Regions from separate parts of the Homo sapiens genome. Here region 1 is linked to region 2. Evidence: promoter capture Hi-C in 16 types of primary human blood cells and fetal thymus (Javierre and others, 2016). All regions are on one chromosome and are shown on one strand. The core of a region is centred on a gene start or on the middle of the fragment in contact, and the rest is flanking DNA. Distances in the headings are between cores, read along the strand shown.

Region 1 (4,448 bases), core at 1,746-4,245, 520 kb after region 2:
TTAATAATTGGCCAACAATTCGATATTATGACATCAGTCTACCCTGAGAGATGTTTTTAAAAACAGACCTGTGAAACTCATTGCCATGTTTATAAAAAGGCTGCTTTGAGGATGTTATAGTCACTACATCACAGAGTCCCTTTTGCGAGAATCTAGGGGAGGCATTTCTGCCTGGTTTCAGTTCCAGGAACGGTTATGTTTATCTTGAATGACTGTTTAGATTTAATGTTGTGGACACTGAATGGTGTACATGATCCCATTTCCTTATTTGCATTTGGTGATTAGAAAACACTGAACCAAATTGGTGCCCCGTCCCTGATGGTGTATTGAATTCCAAGAAGTGTCTATGTTTGGTACTAATCTCACTCACTGCTCATATTTTCTTTTTGCCTCAGTTTTCTTATTTTAAATTAATTTCATCATGTAGAATGACATGTAAGCCATTTGTTGATAGGAGATAGGAGTGAAAATAAGTCAAGAAGACTGGGTGGGACTACAAGACACCCTGGACTTGGATACCAGGGTGCTGGGGCAGGTAGGTCTGAGCATGGAGGCCATCAGTTGCATCTAGGATGAGAGCAGAGCTTTCTGCTATATGAGTTTTTGAAAAAGTACCCTTATACCTACAAAGTCCCTGTTAAGTAAAATGCAAATGATTCACATAAGGCCAGGCCTACATGACACTAGTCACCTATCCAGTAACCAGAGGGAGCCCCTGGGAGTCTCAGCCCATCTCACTCGCACCACTTGACCTGGCCAGGTCAACCTGATCCAGGTAACATAGATGGCAAAGTCTTACTTGGTGGTTCATACTGCTTCCTTCCCTTGCAGGGAAGGCACGACAAGTTCAGCTTCTGAGCCTACCAGCCTGGCAGTGTCCATGACGCCATGTCTTCCCGCTCATACTTGCCTGATTTTGCAAAGGCAGCTGCTCTTAGTGACTCTTGCTGAACCTTCTTCTCCCCAAACTCCACCTCCAAATAGTCTCTGTCTTTTTTTTTTTTTTTTTTTTTTTTTAGTAGAGACAGGGTCTTGTTATGTTGGCCAGGCTGGTCTTGAACTCCTGGCCTCAAACAATCCTCCTCGTGGGCCTCCCATAGTACCAGTTTATAGGCGTGAGTCACTTTGCCAGGCCAATTCTTTTTTGATGGATCATTTATCTACAGGTTTCCCTTGCCCTACGGTTCCTGCTTTCTAGAGCCTCAACTCCCTTTCCCACACACCAAGCCCACTTTTCTTCCCCTCTTTACCCTCTTCTTCTCAGTATCTAATTTTTTTTTTTTTTTTTGTAGAGATGGGTTTTCACCATGTTGCCCACACTGGTCTCGAACTCTTGGGCTCAAGCAATCTGCCCACCTGGGCCTCCAAAGTGCTAGCATCACAGGTGTGAGCCACTGTGCCCGGCCAGTATATGAATTTTAAAGGCCTTTATGTAGCTCAATAAAGCCAGCCTCCACCTCAGTTGCGGTCCCACATGGCAGACACATCAGGGCATGGAGGCCTTTCTTGGAGGGCCCAGATCACATCTGTTCCTATCTGGCTCCAGTGTAGGCTGGTGGTTCTCAACCCTGGCTGCACGTTTGAATCATGGGGGAGCTTTTCAAAAAGACGAATGCTAGGGCCACCCCAAATCAACTGGAGCTGATTCTTGAGTAGTGGTGGTGGGTTGGGAAGCACTCTCCAGGTGGATCTGATATGTAAGCTAACACTGAGAACAACCACTATCATAAAGAGACCAGCCTAGGTCAGTGTCCTTAAAATAGCTCCTGGCCACCGCTGGAGCTTGGATGGGGGGCTGTGGCTCTACAAGGCGAGTGGTGTGAGTAGGGTGTGTTTGGGTTAAACCTCTGAGAATCTGGAGAACTGCTGCCTCATGAGTAAATGCTGAGGGTCTGCTGATGGTCGATAGCTGTCAGCAACATGGACACTCCAGCTTTGGGGGCACTGTGCTGAAGGAGGTGAAAGGCTGAAGGAACAGCAGAGGAGAAGCAGAAGCCACATGCCCAGCAAGGTATCTCATGGCATCTGTTCCCATGGGGCCTGGCACGTCTCTGTGCCAGGTGGCATTAAAGGAGAGGCTCTCGCCTTACTGTTCAATGCACGCACAGCAACTCCTCCAGCAGGGCACAGGCCAGCCTGCTGTTGGGAGGATATGGGGAAATTTCAGAACATTATGAGCTGCTGAAAAGTTTACAGGTGTCTATTTTACTTTCCCAGCCCATCGTGGCAGCCTTTGCAGGTACAGAGCAGCCTCATTTATCTTCCACTGTCAGGGGAGTACCGTGTTCCACTTAAGTGAATTTCCCTGAAATCCCAAGCTTGTTCTTTCTAAAGCCAAAATTTCATTTATTTTAGCCATTCTGAATGGAAGACTTTCTAAAATGCATTCTACACCTCCTCACCTTCTTAGATACACACCAGAATTTAACTCTTTCTGCATGACCTTGACTAATTTTTATGACCGCCCAGCACCCACAATGCCTCTTCTCACTTAACTTTGTTTATTTCCTCTACTATCGGGCTGTCAGTTGTCAATTCGCATTGCTGTTATTGAGCTTTATCTAAAGCTTTCCTCTTCCGCCTCCTGTAGGTCTTATACATGCAACATCCAATTTGCTGTGACTAGGAAATCAAATATGTGAGACTGTTAGATTTTTATGTTAAGCAGGAGTGAGGAGGCCTTGAATGAGTTTCTTGGTTCTTCTTCCAAGCAATACAGTCCATGAATTTGGTGTAGGATCATGCAATAGTTATTTCAGGTATCCAGGGCTTTCTTTGCTTGCACATCTTGGAAGTTACTAGAAGTCAAGTTTCAAAATAAGTGGGGATGATGCTGTAGTGGGCTGGAAGAGCAGTATAAGTATTTTTCCAACTGTTCATTTTCAGGAATGTCATGTATCTTATCCAACTAGCCGGATGCCTGCAGAGGAAGTGTTACTGTCTTCACCTGCCAGACTACCTGTCACTAGGTTTTTTGTCTGCAGGTTTCATGAGTCTGGCCTTTGTTTGACAAAGGACCCTCCCACATGGAAAGAAATGAAGATCAAAAGCCCCTTCAGGAATATGTCCAGGTCTTCAAACTCTGAGACAGGGCCCTGGTTTGAAGACCTGTCAGATTCAGACAGATGCAGTGACATTTGGAAAGTAATTTGAATTACCAGAGGACCAGAGATATTGGATGGCCAGCAAAAATGTCTCCTCACACCTGCTGTCAATGTCGATCAACCACCAGTATAGCATTCTCCTGAGAGGAGCATTGCCCTCACCTACATTTCGGTGTCTTGTGAAGTTACAGCATTTGGGCTGGCAGCCTGAGTATGTTGCTGGGAAGACTAATAGCCTGCAATTAAGATCATCTGCAGGGAATATTCCAGGTTTTAGAGAATCCAGCTCTGGGATGTTTAGTGTCCCAGCAAAGCTTGGGGCATGAGTATCATCACCATCATGAGGAATTACCCATTATCACACTATGTTGGCACTGTTCTACGAGGAGGGTATGATAAGTTCTGTTTTAAAGATTGAAAACTGAGCTTACAGATAAGGTATCTTTCCTGAGGTCAGGCAACTGGAAACCGATGGAGCTGAGATTAGAACTCAGGACTATGGACAAATTCATCAAACTTGCTTCCTCTCTGATCATGGCCTGGCTGCTGCTCTCTGTATCCTCAGTCTACTCAAATGCTCTTACCTCCTAAACTTTTCTCAGGAATCACAGGGAGATGGGAGTTTGGAGCTTGTTATGATGATGGCAGGCCCTGGAGAACAGAGATCAAGGCCAGCTTTTCATATAGATGGGGCAGGTGGCCACCTCTGTGGCATGCAGGGGGACTGACGTGTCACTCGTGCCCTGGATATACTACTGCTTATATCATCTGAGATGCCTGAAATCCTCAAATTAGAGTTGGAATCCTTTGGCTTTGAGGTTTTTTTCAAGGTAAAAAGATATAAATAACCCTGGAAAGGTGCTACTTTAAGCTATAATACTTCCTCTTATGTGCATCTTAGAGTAAACAAGTTTCAAATATTTTCTTGAGAGCAGATTTTTTCCTGGAGCACAGGGAAAGTGTGAGTACTACATGTTCACATTGTCCACTGAGGGACGAAAAGGGGTACAGAGCAGCAGGCTGGAGGCACCAAGTCCAAGTTTATTCCCTTGCAGCTTCATCTGGAATCTGTTTGGGGACAATGATGAAGTTAGAGATCAAAAGATACACTAGAAAGTGCGTACATCATACGTCGCATCTGAAGCTAAGAAGATAGTGCAGTAGATGTGTGGTTGGGATCCAAGCACTGGATTGACACTTTGGGAGCCATAAACAGAAATCTTGCCTGTGCCATTTTGCTTAGCCTCCTATTTCCTGGGCCAGTTACGATCTTTTTGAAACTTAAATAAATCTTCCAGTACTTGGCAGCACCTGAGATAAAGTAAGGGTTCAATAAATGCTCAT
Region 2 (4,402 bases), core at 1,143-3,642:
AAAAAAAACCAATAAAATAAACAGTGACATAATGGGTTCCTTTATTGTAGGAACCACTATCCTAAGGCTTGCTTTGATTGACGTAAGTCAACCTGCAGGCTCTTTCATTTTTCTTGAAATGTTAATATTATTTTATTTTTAGAGACAGGGTCTTGCTCTGTCACCCAGGCTGGAGTGCAGTGGTGTGATCATAGCTCACTGCAGCCTCAAACTTCTGGGCTCAAGTGATCCTCCCACCTCAGCCCCCCAAATAACTGGGATTACAGGCACGTGCTGCCATGCTCGGCTAATTTTTTACTTTTTGTAGAGATGGGCTCTCACTATGTTGCTCAGGCTGGTCTCAATCTCCTGGGCTCAGGTGATCCTCCCATCTAAGCCTCCTGAGTAGCTAGGACTACGTGTGTGTGACACCACAGCCGGCCAATTAAAATTTTATTTTTTATTTTATTTTTTTAGAGATAGGGTCTCACTATGTGACCCAGGCTGGCTGAAATGTTAATTTTAAAAGAGCATCCCAAATTAGCAGAGTAGGCTACCTTCTCAAGTTGCCATCAAGAACTGGTACTCAGCTGGCTTTTGTAAAGGTAACCTAGCAGTGTAGAGCTAAGACTGCCAGAGGGATGTAGAGCTAAGACTGCCAGAGGGATGTAGAGCTAAGACTGCCAGAGGAATGTAGGAGAAAACAGTATTTTAGGGATGATCAATGAGGAGCACCAGTTTCCTTTAGATTTTGTCTCTAAATCTATATACACATTTATTAATCACCACCCATGGCATCATCTTGGACTACTAAGTGAAGTTCTAAATTTACATATATATGTGTGTGTGTGTATTCTCTTTCCCGTGGTTACTGACATAAAAAGCTCCATCTGAAAAGGCTCCCCTATTCAAGGAAATATAAATAGAGATGTTCAGCAGAATCTGCTAGGAAAGCAATGACCAGGAAAGGGAGCTATTTAACAGGAAGTTGCCGGCTTCTCCCTGTCTCTGCCTTACCTGTAATATACCCCAATATGTCCCTCTTCTATCTTGTGCACAGCTGAGAAGAGAGATGCACAAAAGAAACTGGAAGCCACAGCCACAACTGCTCCCAACTGAGCCATCAGTGAGCCTTTATCCTAGGGAAAAGACACGGGAAAATGTGTGTGGTCCAACGTGCAGGAGAAAAGGCCACAACAGCGAGAGGACCTCACCAAGCTGAGCTCCCTGCGAGTGACTCATATCCAGCCTGGTGTCGTGTGAACACAAGGCTAGATCTACAACTCGCTTCCTCCTCGTTCTCAGTCAACGTTCCCCTTTCTTTAACTGTAAAATTAGAGCCCCCACCGCACTGAGGAAGCACTGGCTCCGGATACAGCCGTTGCTCAAGGGAGAACCCGTGCCAGCTGGGTAGGGTTCAGAACACAGCCTTGTCTTCCTGTGAACACGAATGTGCTGTCACTGAACCTTTCCTACCAGTAGTAGGGAAGAGAGGCAGCTGCAGTACTTTGGCCCAAATTACAGAGGATGCCAAATGACAGGCAGTTGTGGCTATGTAATTCTGGTCAGAGTCTCCCACTCCTAATTGCCTGCAGTTTCAAAGGAAACCATTATTTACTCCTTTCAGATGCTGGAGTGGCAGAGCCAGCAGGCGAGCAGAGTTTCAAGGTAGGATTCGTTGGCCTCGCATCCACCTTCCCAGTTATTCCTTTGGCCCTAAACAGGACAGGGCTCTGAACAAGCCTGAAGCCACACTCCCCCCCATATACTTTGGCACTTTGCACCTGACAGATCCCCAAGCCCGTGGTCAGAGAGAAAGGCAATGTCCCAAACTGCGAGCCTCTAGGCTCCTAGGTCCAACCGCGTTCAGGCACCAGGACGCGGAGGAGTGGGATCCTGAACGCTGAATGATCTGGAACTATGGTGACTGACTGCAAAGTTCAGCTGTGCGTGCGTGGGCCCGTGAGCGCAGGGCGTGGATTCTGCCTCCCAGGTCTAACGTAACCGGGGCGCGGACATCTGCGAGGCGCTTATTTTACCGTGGCGGCCTCCGGCTACCGATCTGCAGTTGCGTCCTTTCCTGCCAGTGCCCTTCCCTCCCCGAGGTCACTCGCGCCCCTTCCCCGCCCCGTTCCGAGAGAGGGTCAAGCGCCCTGGTCTGGGGCTGCGGCTCCAATAGCCTCCGCTCGGTCCCCCTGCGGCTCGCAAGGAGAGGACGCGACAGAAAAGGGTTTCTGTCTCTCTCCAGGAGCGGGCCGGCTGAGGGAGAGAAGCTGCTGGGACTGAGGTTCCCGAAAGTGACGGGTCAGCCCCGACCCTGAGCGGCAGCTAGGCCCAGCGCGCGCACGAAGGGGCGGGGGCCGCGTACCAGGCTGTCCCTGCAGGCGCTCCGTACTCGTCCGAGCCCACGAGCAAGAAAACCGTCACACCCCTCAGCACGCGACTTCCTTCCGGGCCGTCGCTTCGATGACGCCATCAATTCACGCGAGAAGACCACACCCCCGCCCCGCGCTCGCTCTGCGCCCCGCCCCTCGCGCTCCCAGCGGTCAATGGCCGTAGCTGGCCGCCAGGGATCGCCCGCGACTTGGTCGGTGCGGTCCTGGACCTCGGTCTTGGGTATCCGTCCTGGGGCTGGGGATGAGGGCGGTGTTGGTGGGAGCTCCCCGAGAGCGAGCGGCAGGACGCGCATGCCCCGGAGTACTGAGACCCAGGGCGAACCTTTCCAAGGCGTTGACTTTGGGGATTGCTCCGGATTTCCTTCTGCATTAGGCCGAACCTGGTTCGTTTTGGTTTTTTTAGAGACAAGGTCTCGCTCTTTTGCCCAGGCTGGAGTGCAGTGGCACGATCATAGCTCACTACAGCCTCGAACTCCTGGGCTTAAGCGATCCTCCCACCTCACCCTGCTGAGTAGCTGGGACCACAGGCGCACGCCACGACACTTGACAATTTTATTTTTAGTAAAGACAGGGTCTTGGTATTTCTGGTCTCAAACTCTGGCTTCAAGCAATCCTCCTGCCTCGGCCTCCCAAACTGCTGGGATTACAGGCATGAGCCACCATGCGCGGCCTTTTTTTTTTTCTCTCCTTGATAAGGTACTGGCGAGTTGCAACTGTTTGCTTTCCTATAGCACAGCTGAAATGAAACAGTCTTTTCAATGTACAGATTAGCATCATTACCTCACCAATCAAAAATCCCTACCTTGAGTTGTTCTTTATATTTTTCTGGGAGCTTTGGCCCTTGGGATCCTGCAACGCCACAAAGTATATTAACAAGGAATTATTATTCTAATTTTAATGAACGGAATCTAAGAAGTTCAGCGAGGTTCAAGGGTAAAAGCCAAGGAAAGTTTCCTTTGTGTTTCCTTAATATCTTGAGTTCACTGCTTTTTAAACTCCTGCCACAGTGCACAGGGGCTAGTGCACTTCGTCTTTCTAGATAAACTGTACGTTCCCGGGAGAGCAGAGACTGACTTTCCTTCCGCACCCCCGGGGCTTAGGTGCCCAGTAAAAACAGACTGAAGGCAACGTGGGACCAGGCCCGGAATCCAGAGTTTGTGTCTCCTAGTCTAAGGGCCTCACGTTGTCCTCCACCTGCCCTATTCACCAGCATCACATTGGGGCATTTCTAATTCAGCCACTGAGGTTATTAATATTTTGTTTGCAGGAGAGAAAGAGTCCACTTAATTATAGCCTTCAGTAAAAGAAAAACTTTTACACCGGGAAGATGGCAAGCTGGTGGTGTTAGACAGATTTAAGACTCAGGAAAAGGGAAGTGTGGTTTTTTCCAGGCATGCCTGCTTGGGATTGGCCCGTTTACCTTTCCTGCGTTTGCTCTGGGTGTTGGGATGTTTCAGCATTACATGGTGAAACCCATACGAGGGTTACATGGTGCTGTCTGGGAGCTCTGTGCCCATCTCCATAAATGAAGGCCTTTCATCTCCCTACTCTGTCCCTGCATCCCCCACCCCAAACAGACACAGCTGGCCAATCTCTCGATCAATCCTATCAGAACTTGAGTTTTTTCTCTCCCTGTTCAGTGATATAACCTCAGCTGGGCATGCTTATTTAATAGTTTATTTAATAATTGAGTAAGAAAAATGGAAATATTAGGGTTCATCAACCCATGAAATGGGGGCTAGCCTGCAGCATCAAGTATTTAAATTACTTGTAATTTAAGAATTTCCTTTAACCAACCTCTGGCAACCCGTCTCCCCTCCCCTTCCCACAAATATGTATATTATTATGTGTCAATTAAAAATAATAAAAACACAAAAATTTCCTCACATTAAACTTTGGAGTGAATTGTGGCTAGAAGTTTTGGGATTTTGTTCTTAGGAGTCATTTTACCAGACCTGAGTTATTTAGTTGTGGACGTGCCTAAAGGCAGGGGGATGGACTTCGTGATGTGCTAGTACATGATGATC

What was found. Contacts are between HindIII fragments. The CHiCAGO score rates a contact against its expected background, and 5 or more counts as called.
Region 1: a contact is called between a fragment that was not itself captured here and the fragment with the promoter of ERLIN2 in region 2, in 2 of 17 cell types (M1 macrophages and M0 macrophages). The highest score is 6.7, in M1 macrophages.

Annotation. Positions count from the first base shown.
Region 1 is chr8:37,217,352-37,221,799 of GRCh38, reverse strand. No RefSeq gene overlaps it. Among named protein-coding and RNA genes, the nearest start is that of LINC01605, 380 kb to the left of the region's middle. The HindIII fragment of the contact is 851 bases long and covers 2,570-3,420 here.
Region 2 is chr8:37,734,624-37,739,025 of GRCh38, reverse strand. It overlaps ERLIN2 (ER lipid raft associated 2), which reads right to left and starts at 2,392. Exons shown (of 12, transcript NM_007175.8): 1 at 2,348-2,392; 2 at 997-1,118. The coding sequence starts at 1,103. LOC102723701 (a long non-coding RNA gene) reads left to right here and starts at 1,600. Exons shown (of 2, transcript NR_125821.1): 1 at 1,600-1,647; 2 at 2,228-4,265. RefSeq lists enhancers at 1,038-1,830, 2,310-2,519. The HindIII fragment of the contact is 8,102 bases long and covers 1-4,402 here.